2 separate regions of the Homo sapiens genome follow, and region 1 is linked to region 2. Evidence: promoter capture Hi-C in 16 types of primary human blood cells and fetal thymus (Javierre and others, 2016). All regions are on one chromosome and are shown on one strand. Each heading gives the region's core, a stretch centred on a gene start or on the middle of the fragment in contact. The rest is flanking DNA. Distances are from core to core; before and after follow the strand shown.

Region 1 (4,929 bases), core at 1,842-4,341, 440 kb after region 2:
GGTCGAATGCTCACTCTCAGTATTAAATGGGCAAAAATAAAGTTATGCTGTCCATATGGATGAAAGCAAAGCATGTATAAAAGATGATGCACAGAGTGGATAATACCCTTCAGATAAGTGGTGTATTAATCAGGGTTCTCCATAGAAACAGAACCAATAGGTTGTGTGTATATATATATATGGAAAGAGATTTGTTTTAAGGAACTCACGTGAACATCGAGACAGGCAAGTTCAAAATACTCAGGGAGGGCTGGCAAGCTGGAGACTCAGGAAGAGCTGATGTTGCAGTTCAAATCTGCTAGAATGGCCTCCTGCTTGTGGAGGTCAGCCTTTTGTTCTATTCAAGCTGTCAACCAATAGATGAGGCCCACCTGCATTACAGAGGGCAGTCTGCTTTGCTCAAATTTAGCAATTTAAATGTTAATCTCATCTAAAAACACCCTCAAAGAAATGTGCAGAATAGTGCTTGACTACATACCTGGGCCCCGTGGCCCAGCCAAGTTGACACATAAAATTGACCACCTCAAGTGGGAATGGGCATTGCACATGGTGCTGTTTGCAATACCAGCACACTGAAGCGAATGATGAAGACGGGAGGCCTTAATCTATCTCTCCTTCTTAAAGCACTGATGATTTTATTTACAACTAAAATAGGTTGGCAGGGTGCAGTGGCTTACGCCTAGAATCTTAGCATTTTGGGAGGCCGAGGCGGGTAGATCCCCTGAGGTCAGGAGTTTGCAACCAGCATGACCAACATGGTGAAGCCCCGTCTCTACTAAAAATACAAAAATTAACTGGGCGTGGTGGTGGGCACCTGTAATCCCAGATGCTTGGGAGGCTGAGGCAGGAGAATCACTTGAACCTGGGAGGCGGAGATTGCATAATATTTAACTCCAGCCTGGGCAACAAGAGTGAATGAAACTCCATCTCAAAAAATTAAAAAAAAGAAATAATAAAATTAAAATAGATGAAAATATTGTTGGCCTTAAGTAAAGCCTAATATAGAAGATATTTTAGGAAAACTGTTGTAATCTTATTGCTTATGTTTGTAACATTTCTGCTAGATTTGCATTTATAAGAACAGCCAGGAAACAAAGATTTATGGTAAAAACGTGTGATCTCACGTACGTGGGTTAGTTTATCTTTTTTGAGGTTGTCTCTCACAGCCTGCTGCTAAAAATAAGCAGTCTTCTATTATTTGCTCACCTGTGATTTAGTCAGAAAAGCCAGTGTATTCTAATGAGTTGGGAAGAGGTGAAATTTCCATTCAGAATGGTAATTTTCTGTTAATCATCATTGAAACTGAAGAGCCTCCCAGATTGTTCCTCAACATTTGAATTGGCCTCAGTAAAAATGAAAGAAGACAAAGGAACATTTATATGAAAGTAAAATGTTCTTATTCTTTCTGGTTTTGCTAATAAAACTACCAGATTGGTTTCCTTGTCTTTGTCCTCTGATCTGTTTACATTCCTTTTATTATATTTTGGTGTGGCCCATTAAAAATATTGCCCCATACTAACTAGTATATTGAAAACGGATAGAATTAGATTTCGTAATAAAGTGAACTTAGTTCACTCAAATGTTAAGTCATTTCCTCCACTGAATCCTTGTAGACACAGGCATTTGGATTGTATCTTTACAATATGATATTGGAAAAGATGAGGGAATATTGGTAATTTGAGGTGAAAAAGAAAACTCTTATAATTGAATGTGGATGCTTTGTCTCTTCTTGGAGCAGAGGTTTAAGAAAGAAAAGGAAGAAACTCCACCACTACAAAGCTACCTTGGAGAACACTTAGACAAAAATTTCTCAGAGCATATGCTATTTGGTGAAAATTCACAAATTGCTCTTCATAGCTTTCTGAATTTGTGTCATATCTGCATTTTAAAATTGAATGTGCTGCAGTTCCAACCTGTATGCTTTTGAATGAACCTTAATGATGGGCCATTTCTTATTGCCGTCATCTGTGCCTTTCATTGCTGATTTATGTCAACTTCCTTTAAATGCATTGTGGTATTTAGGCAGTGGATAAGATAGTAATGCCATCGCATGCTGGTTGCTTAATGATGCAATTGCTTGAAAATTTAAAGCCCATAATAGCTTTAGGTCAGGTTCAGAAGTTCATGTTCCATGCCAGACATTTGAAGACTGAATCAGAGCCCGAGCACTGCCAAAATCATGCCACATTTGTCAAGCCTGGCCTTGGGTAAAAGCTGTTGGAAGCCGCCCATTCATCCAAGCCAATCACTGATAATGAAGCTTGAGGGAACATGAAATATCTTTTCTAAAAAGAACAGACAACCTCACCAGTTGGCTGCCTTTTTTTTATTTTTAGTATAATTACCAGGGGCAAACTGTCTTGCAGAATTGCTATCTTATATTAGCTTTGAGTTTGTGTTCTTGAGACCTGATGCAAGGATGTTTTATTAGCTAAGAATATGTGGTTTGAGGTCAGCTGAACATGATTCTTTCAGGTTTTTCTTGTGGGCTGTAATGTGATTGACTATTCTGTGGTGTGGAAGCTTACAGCTAGAAAAGAAACTTCAGGAGAACCACTTTCCTGTTTTCACGCTTATATTTTATCTGACTAATTCGCTTGGCTCCTGCCACAAACATCCATCAGTGAACAGACTTCTGCTACAGGGAAAGTTCTAGAAGAGCTGCCCACCTGGAACACTTCAGTCAAGCCTGAAGCTGGAATTGTAAAGTGTGACTGATTCCAAAATCACCATGCCCCAACCTACTCCTGCTAAATGTTAGATTTTTTTTTTTTTTTGGAAGCTGCATGTTACTTTTCCCCTTTTCTTTTTTTCAAAGGGCTCATAGTATTGGTTCCAGTATCTCAAAAGGATGTTTTGCAGATGAGAGAAAAGTACTTGAAAGAGTCTGAAACGCTGGAAGGACTAGAGATGTTAACTGGTCACTTTCCCTCACTCCTGCCTTTCATATTCCACACTCAGGTCTTTAAAGACTTTGGCTTTGAAGAGAGGAAATGAAATATGGGAGCCTCAAGGCTGATACTTATCCTAGCTTTTTTTTTTTTTTCTCATGAGTGTTCAGAGAAAGGAATTGAATTTGAATTCTCTGAAGCACCATATGATAGGTAGTTCTGATTAAGTTGTGGCTAGATGTCTTTGATGATGTTATTACCATCATCAAAAAAATGTTAACTAATTCCTCATGTATGTAAATCTTTGTAATTCAGAACACACTCACTTTACCTGATTCTCACAACCACTTGGTAATGAAGGCACGGCAGGTACTGGTTTCATCCTCATCCCCCAATGTGTAGATGCGGAAACTGAGGATGAGAGGTAAACCTTTCCCCAAGTTTCACAGATAGTAAGTGGCAAGTCTAAGACAAATCATGCTACGTCCAGTGCTTTTCCTGTATTTTATGCTGCCTCCTGCCTTCTGTCAGCAGATTTTGGTGGCTGTTGGAGGAAAGAAAATTATAAGAAAAATTATAAGAAAAGATCCTTGCTCTTGATGAGTTTAAGGTCTACCTGGAGAGACAGAACTGAGGCATGAAAGAGACAAAGAAGAATGCAAGGTAGGCTGTGCTAAGTGTTCAGTCAGTAGTTTTGAGGTTACTTGTTGCTGGAGCGTCATGTAGGAGAGGTGATTGATCGAAGGCAGGGACAGCAGAGAAAGCTTTCGGGAGGAAGTGAGAGTTGAGTTGGTCTTGAAAGGAGAGTAGGTCTTAGATAAAAGAGAGCAGAGCAGCTTGAGCAACTGTATCACAGAAGCAGATGCATATGACAGTGCGTAGGAGGCTGAGCAAGCAATTGTGCTGGACCCACATATTACATCAGGGAGACATTGCAGGCAAGGCTGCAGAAACAGCAAAAGGACCAGGATGTGAAAATCTTGAATGCCTGAATTTGGATTTAATCCATTAAATAAGGAGAAGATATCCAGGGCTTCAGAGCAGTAGCTTCATGTGTATAATCGATTAGAGACTGGAGATCACTGATGGGGGAGTAGTATATCAGTGCAGTTCATAAAGGTGGTAGAATTAAAATAAAGGAATGAATGACCAGGTCACACAAAGGAAAAAGGATCAGGATTTTCAGGGGAAAGAGGAGAAATAGAGTGATCATAAAATGTATTGTCCAACCTAGGACATTTTCCAAGACAAATGCTACACTGGTCAGGACAGTGGGAAAACAGGCACAAACTGGGACTTTCCTAGGCAAATTGAACATATGATCATACTGGTCAACAATGATGCTGGGGTTTTGAGACTGGGGCATTTGTGGTCATTGATAGAAGGAAAATCAGCAAGGCCAGTGATCTTGGATTTTAAGCTTCAAGATGACTGCAGTAAGTCAGGAGTAGATTTCCAGTGCAAAGTTAGAAATGCACAAAACTTGTCTGTATAACCCTTTGTTTCACCTTTCACTCCTCTTTTAAGCCCCCAACATTAAAAAAAAAAAAAGCACTTTCTTTTGAAGGAAGCAAACAAAGTAAGGAATGGCAGCCACATCCTAGTACTGTCAACATGTTGCATTGTAATTCTCCATTTTGAAACGTGAGCCTGGATGTACTGTCAGGAACTCCTCATCTTTGTGAGACTATGGCTTGCAAAAGCAAATCCTTGCATGTTTTCCCACATCCGAGGGGATCATTTGTCTCTGAAGTGGATTCAGACTACTTTGCGTTTCAAAACAGAATTGAACGTCTGTCAACCTGTTAAAAATTGAGATTTTCAGAAGGAAGAAGTGCGAACTAGAAGGCATGAGTGTGGGAACCCCTATAATCTATGATTTCATTATAGATCAAAAAGAATTTGTTCATTAATTATCAGTTAGCTTGGGACTTTTCAGAGAGGCAATTAAACCAAAATCTACTGAGCCAGGGTAATCATAAAACATAATTTTTATAATTAAATATGTCATTTAGGCTTTTATTTGACATTTTAGGTG
Region 2 (4,956 bases), core at 780-3,279:
CAGGCACAACTGACAATTCATAAGAACCAAGTCTCAGGCGTTAAGTTTTAAAAAGCAAACATTGCTAAGCAAATTAAAATTTGTTAAAACCACTTCCACTCAATTTTCTCCAAAGCTTTGAACAGAGCATGTGAAGAGTCAGTAGATGAGAGGCTTCTAATCTAGTTTCTACCATAGCTTTCTTTTGGCAGAGGCTTAAACCTTTCAGATTTTCTCACTTATGAAATAGGAAAGGTATAGTTTTCAGTCTGGTTAAGGTATCTATGATCAGTTAAGTTCACACAACTAATATCTGAGGGACCATTACCTGTTAGCATAGCTGCTTAGTCAGTACTGGGAAGATGTCTGCCTTCAAAGCACCCATTTTGGAGTAATCTAATCTAGCCTGATCTAATCCTGATTTTAACACTATCCGCAATGAACACAGCCAAGATTATCCAGGTTTGCTTTAGGCACAGCCTGCATCAATGTGAACACTGCTCTAACCTGGAGGAACCCCAGTTCCACAGTTTATTTGGAAGCATTCACATTTCCTTTTAGCCCAGCCCTTAAATTACTTTAATATACATAACCCAAACAGTTCCTAGACCTATTTCCTTGATAGTGGAAAAAATAACAAAGAAAACTAATCACTATTTCTAGCTGAAAACCGAACCCCTCAAGGTGATCTTAAGAAATCAACTGGCCTGCCACCGTGGCTGACGCCTGTAATCCCAACACTTTGGGAGGCCGAGGTGGGCGGGTCACCTGAGGTCAGGAGTTGGTGACCAGCCTGGCCAACATGGTGAAATCCCATCTCTACTAAAAACACAAAAATTAGCCGGGCGTGGTGGTGGGTGCCTGAAATCCCAGCTACTCGGGAGGCTGAGGCAGGAGAATCGCTTGAACCCGGGAGGTGGAGGTTGCAGTGAGCCGAGATCGCGTCACTGCACTCCAGCCTGGCGACAAGAGCGAAACTCCGTCTCAAAAAAAAAAAAAGAAGGAAAGGAAAGGAAAGAAAAAAAAAGGAAAGGAAGAAGGAAGAGAAACAAAGAAAAAGAAAGAAGGAAAGAAAGAGAAAGAAAAGAAAGAAAGAAAGAACGAAAGAAAGAAAGAAAGAAAGAAAGAAAGAAAGAAAGAAAGAAAGAAAGAAAGAAAGAAAGAAAGAAAGAAAATAAATCAATCAACTTTCCTGTAGTCCAGATTCCAGGGTTGTAATACTCAGGGGGAGTTGTAGGTACAAGGGCAAGAGAAAAGCACCTGGCACCAAAGCAGGAGAGCTGTTCTCCACAAGCATCATTCTCAATGCGTCTGAGTCATTACCTGGCCACAGGTCCTCCTGTACTGCCCATTTGCAGTTAGCAGCCCTAGCACTGTCCTCTGCGGGGGATCCTGGCCCAGCGGGGCTCTGGTGAGTATCTGACAAGCATCGGGACCTCGGGCCACTGTAGCCAGCACAACTCCACTCTTGGGGTTGCTGCAGTGCATTGCTTCAGACTCCACGGGCTGCTGCTACCAGGGAAAGAGAAACAGACAAGCTGTTTAGTCGATTCCGTCCACCCCGGGCTCCAAGGACACAGCGAACCTCTAGGAGGGAGAGCACCAAGCAATGGGACTAACACCAATTGCTGATCTTCCCAGTAATTATTGGGGCTGAAAGGGCAGGTGCGACCGCACAGGCGATCAAAGTTGCTCTGAATCAAAACAGTTATTTGAATCCCTGAGGGAGGCTTTTTATCCCAAGACTTCGTGTTGGGCTGGAAGGAGAGAAACATTCTGACAAGCCTCCAAGTCGGGATACTAAACCCACGTTACCTGGAAGACGAAATCTGGGAGCCCCGGTCCTTCCCAGCTGAGATACTCTTCTCCCCAGCCCCCAATAAAAGATCCAGGGTACATGATTGCGGGAAAGCCGGTCTCCATCCCAAGTGACGAGCAGGGTGCTGCGCTGCGGCCTCCTCCCACCAGACAGGAGGCCCCAAAACCTGCCTGGACCCCAAAGCGGGCCCCGCTCTTCCCGTCGTTATCTTTCTATGTGTCCGGAACAACTGGCAAGTGCACTGGAGGATCGCGGTTAAGAGGTGGCCGGCTGGGCGGGGCAGGGCGGGGCAGGGTTGGGCAGGGCCGGGCCGGGCCGGGCGGGGCAGGGCGGGGAAGGGCAGGGAAGGGCAGGGCACGGAAGGGCGGGGCGGGAAGGACCAAGTGTCGAGGGATTCCAGCCTGGGAGGCGGCCGGGCTTAGCGATGCGGCTGAGCTGCCCACCCGCGTCTGTTGAATCGGCCAATCAGCGGCGCCCCCGGACCTAGCGGGAGCGTTTCCATGCCGACCGCGGCAGGCGTGCGCTCTCCGGGGCCGCATCGCCATGGCGACCTGCTCACCTGACTCGCTCCGGGTGGACTCGCCGCGACCCCTGGGCGTTCAGGCCCCTGAGGGCCCAACGGGCGACGGCCCTCCAGCTCCAGCTGTGCGTCTCCGCCCGGGCGAGGTGGGGCTGACCGCGGCCGTCTGCACACGTCCCCTCTGGTCCGCGCCCCCGGCCTGGGAGGGCGGACTCGCCCACCCCACGATGGCCCCGGCTTTGGAAGGGACTGTTTCCGTGACCCGTTCTCCCAACAGCCGCTAACAACCCCCTCTAACGTCTCCTGCGCGGCCCGCTCCTGAGAACCCTGGCTCGGGAGAGCGACGCGGGGTCCTCGGGGCTGCGCAGGCTGCGGCGCCCTGCCCACGCTGGCCCGAGGGCGCGGCTCGCTCCGGGTCGGCTCACACACCTACGCTTCCTGCCGGGAGGCGGCTGGGACGCGGCGGGGCTGCCCCAAGTGCAGTCGCGGCAGTGTTGCGTCTCCATCGCGGGGGTCCTTGCGGGCCGCGCCTGCCCCGCCCGGCTCCCGGTGCATGTGGCCTGCGAGGCGGCAGAGGAGATGTGGGGATTTAGGGTCGCACGTCGTGCTCGAGGTCCCCACGAGAGGTCTTCCCCCGCGGGCTCCTGCGCAACTGCGTGAAGCCGGCCCGGGAAAGCCAAGATTGTGGCCCAGGAAGAGGAAGGAACGCGGGCGACAGAGCTGGGGCTTGGGACGTTGAGGGGGTCGGTGGCAGCTCTCCGGGCTGGGGGCCGGGCGGGCGGCCCGGCCGCGTGGGGAGAGGAGTCCCTGGGGTCCTTATACGGGGGGCTCCTGGAAACCCGGGGGCTCAGACGCCTGCATAGGTGACTGACAAGCCAGGTGAAATAATCGAACTTTATTTTTTTAAAAATAATATGTATATATGCACACACACATTACCAATGCTATAGTCTGTTACTACTTTTGCTTTTTTTAAAACATCCATCCCTAAATCTCTAAATCAGATCCAAAGTCTATTCAAATGGCCACTTTATGCAAGCAACGGTTATCACCGTTTTTCTAAGTGTGCGTTATTAACATTTTCACCAAGCAAACTGAGTGTGGACATTGCTTTAATGGGAAGATAGTAGTATTCTAACAAAAGCGCCGGTTGAAAGCCTTGCAGTTGAGGTAAATATTAAGAAGTTGGTAAGCATCTGGAGAATCAAGGCTGGATGAGGGAGGAACGCAGAAACGGATCTTGTTCAACATGAAACTCATTTCTATACGTTTGTCACAGACTTCTATTCCTTGAGAGACAGCAGTCCGCTTGCACCCCAGATTTCCTGTGCCTTTGAATATGAAGGAAACACGGGAATTCTGGTAACATCTAGATTGCCGCAACAGAGAGTCAGAGGCCAACGGGGACCAAATGCTCTGCTTCGAAAGGTGAATGAAAGGAGCATTTCTGTCCTCTTGCCTGACGCCACTATTGGATATCTTCCCGGGCGCCCTCCCCCACCTGCCAACAGTGTTGTTATTTCCTGGGTCGCTGAAGGACTCAGTGGCTAACTCCGTCTGGGACTCTACAGCAAGTCCTGCCAAGAGCCTGAGTCGCTTGGGAGCGGACAAGATTGGCTGCGCTCACGAGACCTGGTCCTTTGTACACCCCTTTTCATCTGATTTCCTTTGACAAAAATGACCGAAACCTCACGCCCTTTTCCTTTTCTCCAAAGTAGAGGCGCCGGCGCAGTGTTTGTTCGTGGAACCTGTCGTTTTGATCCACTTTTCTGGGATTGAAGCTGAAGCCAGTGTTGGAGTCGGGGCGTGCAGGGAGTGGGGAGCGCCCAACTCCTGCAGAGGCGGATCTGAGGCTGGTTTTTCTCAACTCAGATCTGGCCAGGACCAGATGACAAGGCTACAAAGGTGTCCAGTGACTTTCAGCCGTCTTTAGCCTTAAAAAAGCCTTAAGAAATAATAGTAACCAAATGAGACCTTCGGATAATTTAATACCCCTCCCCTTATCTGAATGGCTGCACCTTAATCCAGCCTTAATCTATATGAAATAGGATTATCATGAACATCTTTTTTCCTGTTCCATCCACTTTGCTAAACTTGGCAAAGGGAAGTGGTTAGTTTATGATTGTTTTATTGTGCTGTCTTAGAATTCTACATTGTCGTTACAAGCCTCTGGTCATATCTTAAACAGGAGAGTGAGTCCCATGAACTGATATCTATGTGTGCATGTAAATTCAGGTACGTGTATAACTTGTGCAATACTTATGGCTTTCTTGGCTTTAAAAAATATCTACACTGAGGCCGGGCACGGTGGCGTACGCCTGTAGTCCCAGCACTTTGGGAATCCGAGGCAGGCGAATCACGAGATCAAGAGATCGAGACCATTCTGGCCAACATGGTGAAACCCTGTCTCTGCTAAAAATACAAAATGTAGCTGGGCGTGGTGGCGCGCGCCTGTAGTTCCAGCTACTCAGGAGGCTGAGGCAGGGGAGTAGCTTGAACCCGGGAGGCAGAGGTTGCAGTGAGCCCAGATCATGCCACTGCACTCCAGCCTGGTGACAGAGCAAGACTCCATATCAAAAAAAAAAAAAAAGTCTTCACTGAATATTGTGTTCCAACGAGTAATGATTTATGACATAAA

Evidence for each region. The method cuts DNA at HindIII sites, captures the fragments that hold promoters and counts their contacts. A CHiCAGO score of 5 or more calls a contact.
Region 1: a contact is called between a fragment that was not itself captured here and the fragment with the promoter of CCNA1 in region 2, in 2 of 17 cell types (M0 macrophages and M1 macrophages). The highest score is 5.2, in M0 macrophages.

The regions. Positions count from the first base shown.
Region 1 is chr13:35,991,957-35,996,885 of GRCh38, reverse strand. The region is part of intron 3 of DCLK1 (doublecortin like kinase 1); the gene reads left to right. Among named protein-coding and RNA genes, the nearest start is that of DCLK1, 140 kb to the left of the region's middle. RefSeq lists an enhancer at 2,903-3,404. The HindIII fragment of the contact is 1,132 bases long and covers 2,526-3,657 here.
Region 2 is chr13:36,429,568-36,434,523 of GRCh38, reverse strand. CCNA1 (cyclin A1) reads right to left here and starts at 2,029. Exons shown (of 9, transcript NM_001413923.1): 1 at 1,795-2,029; 2 at 1,303-1,491. The coding sequence starts at 1,467. RefSeq lists silencers at 2,136-2,295, 2,326-2,375, 2,656-2,725. The HindIII fragment of the contact is 15,627 bases long and covers 118-4,956 here.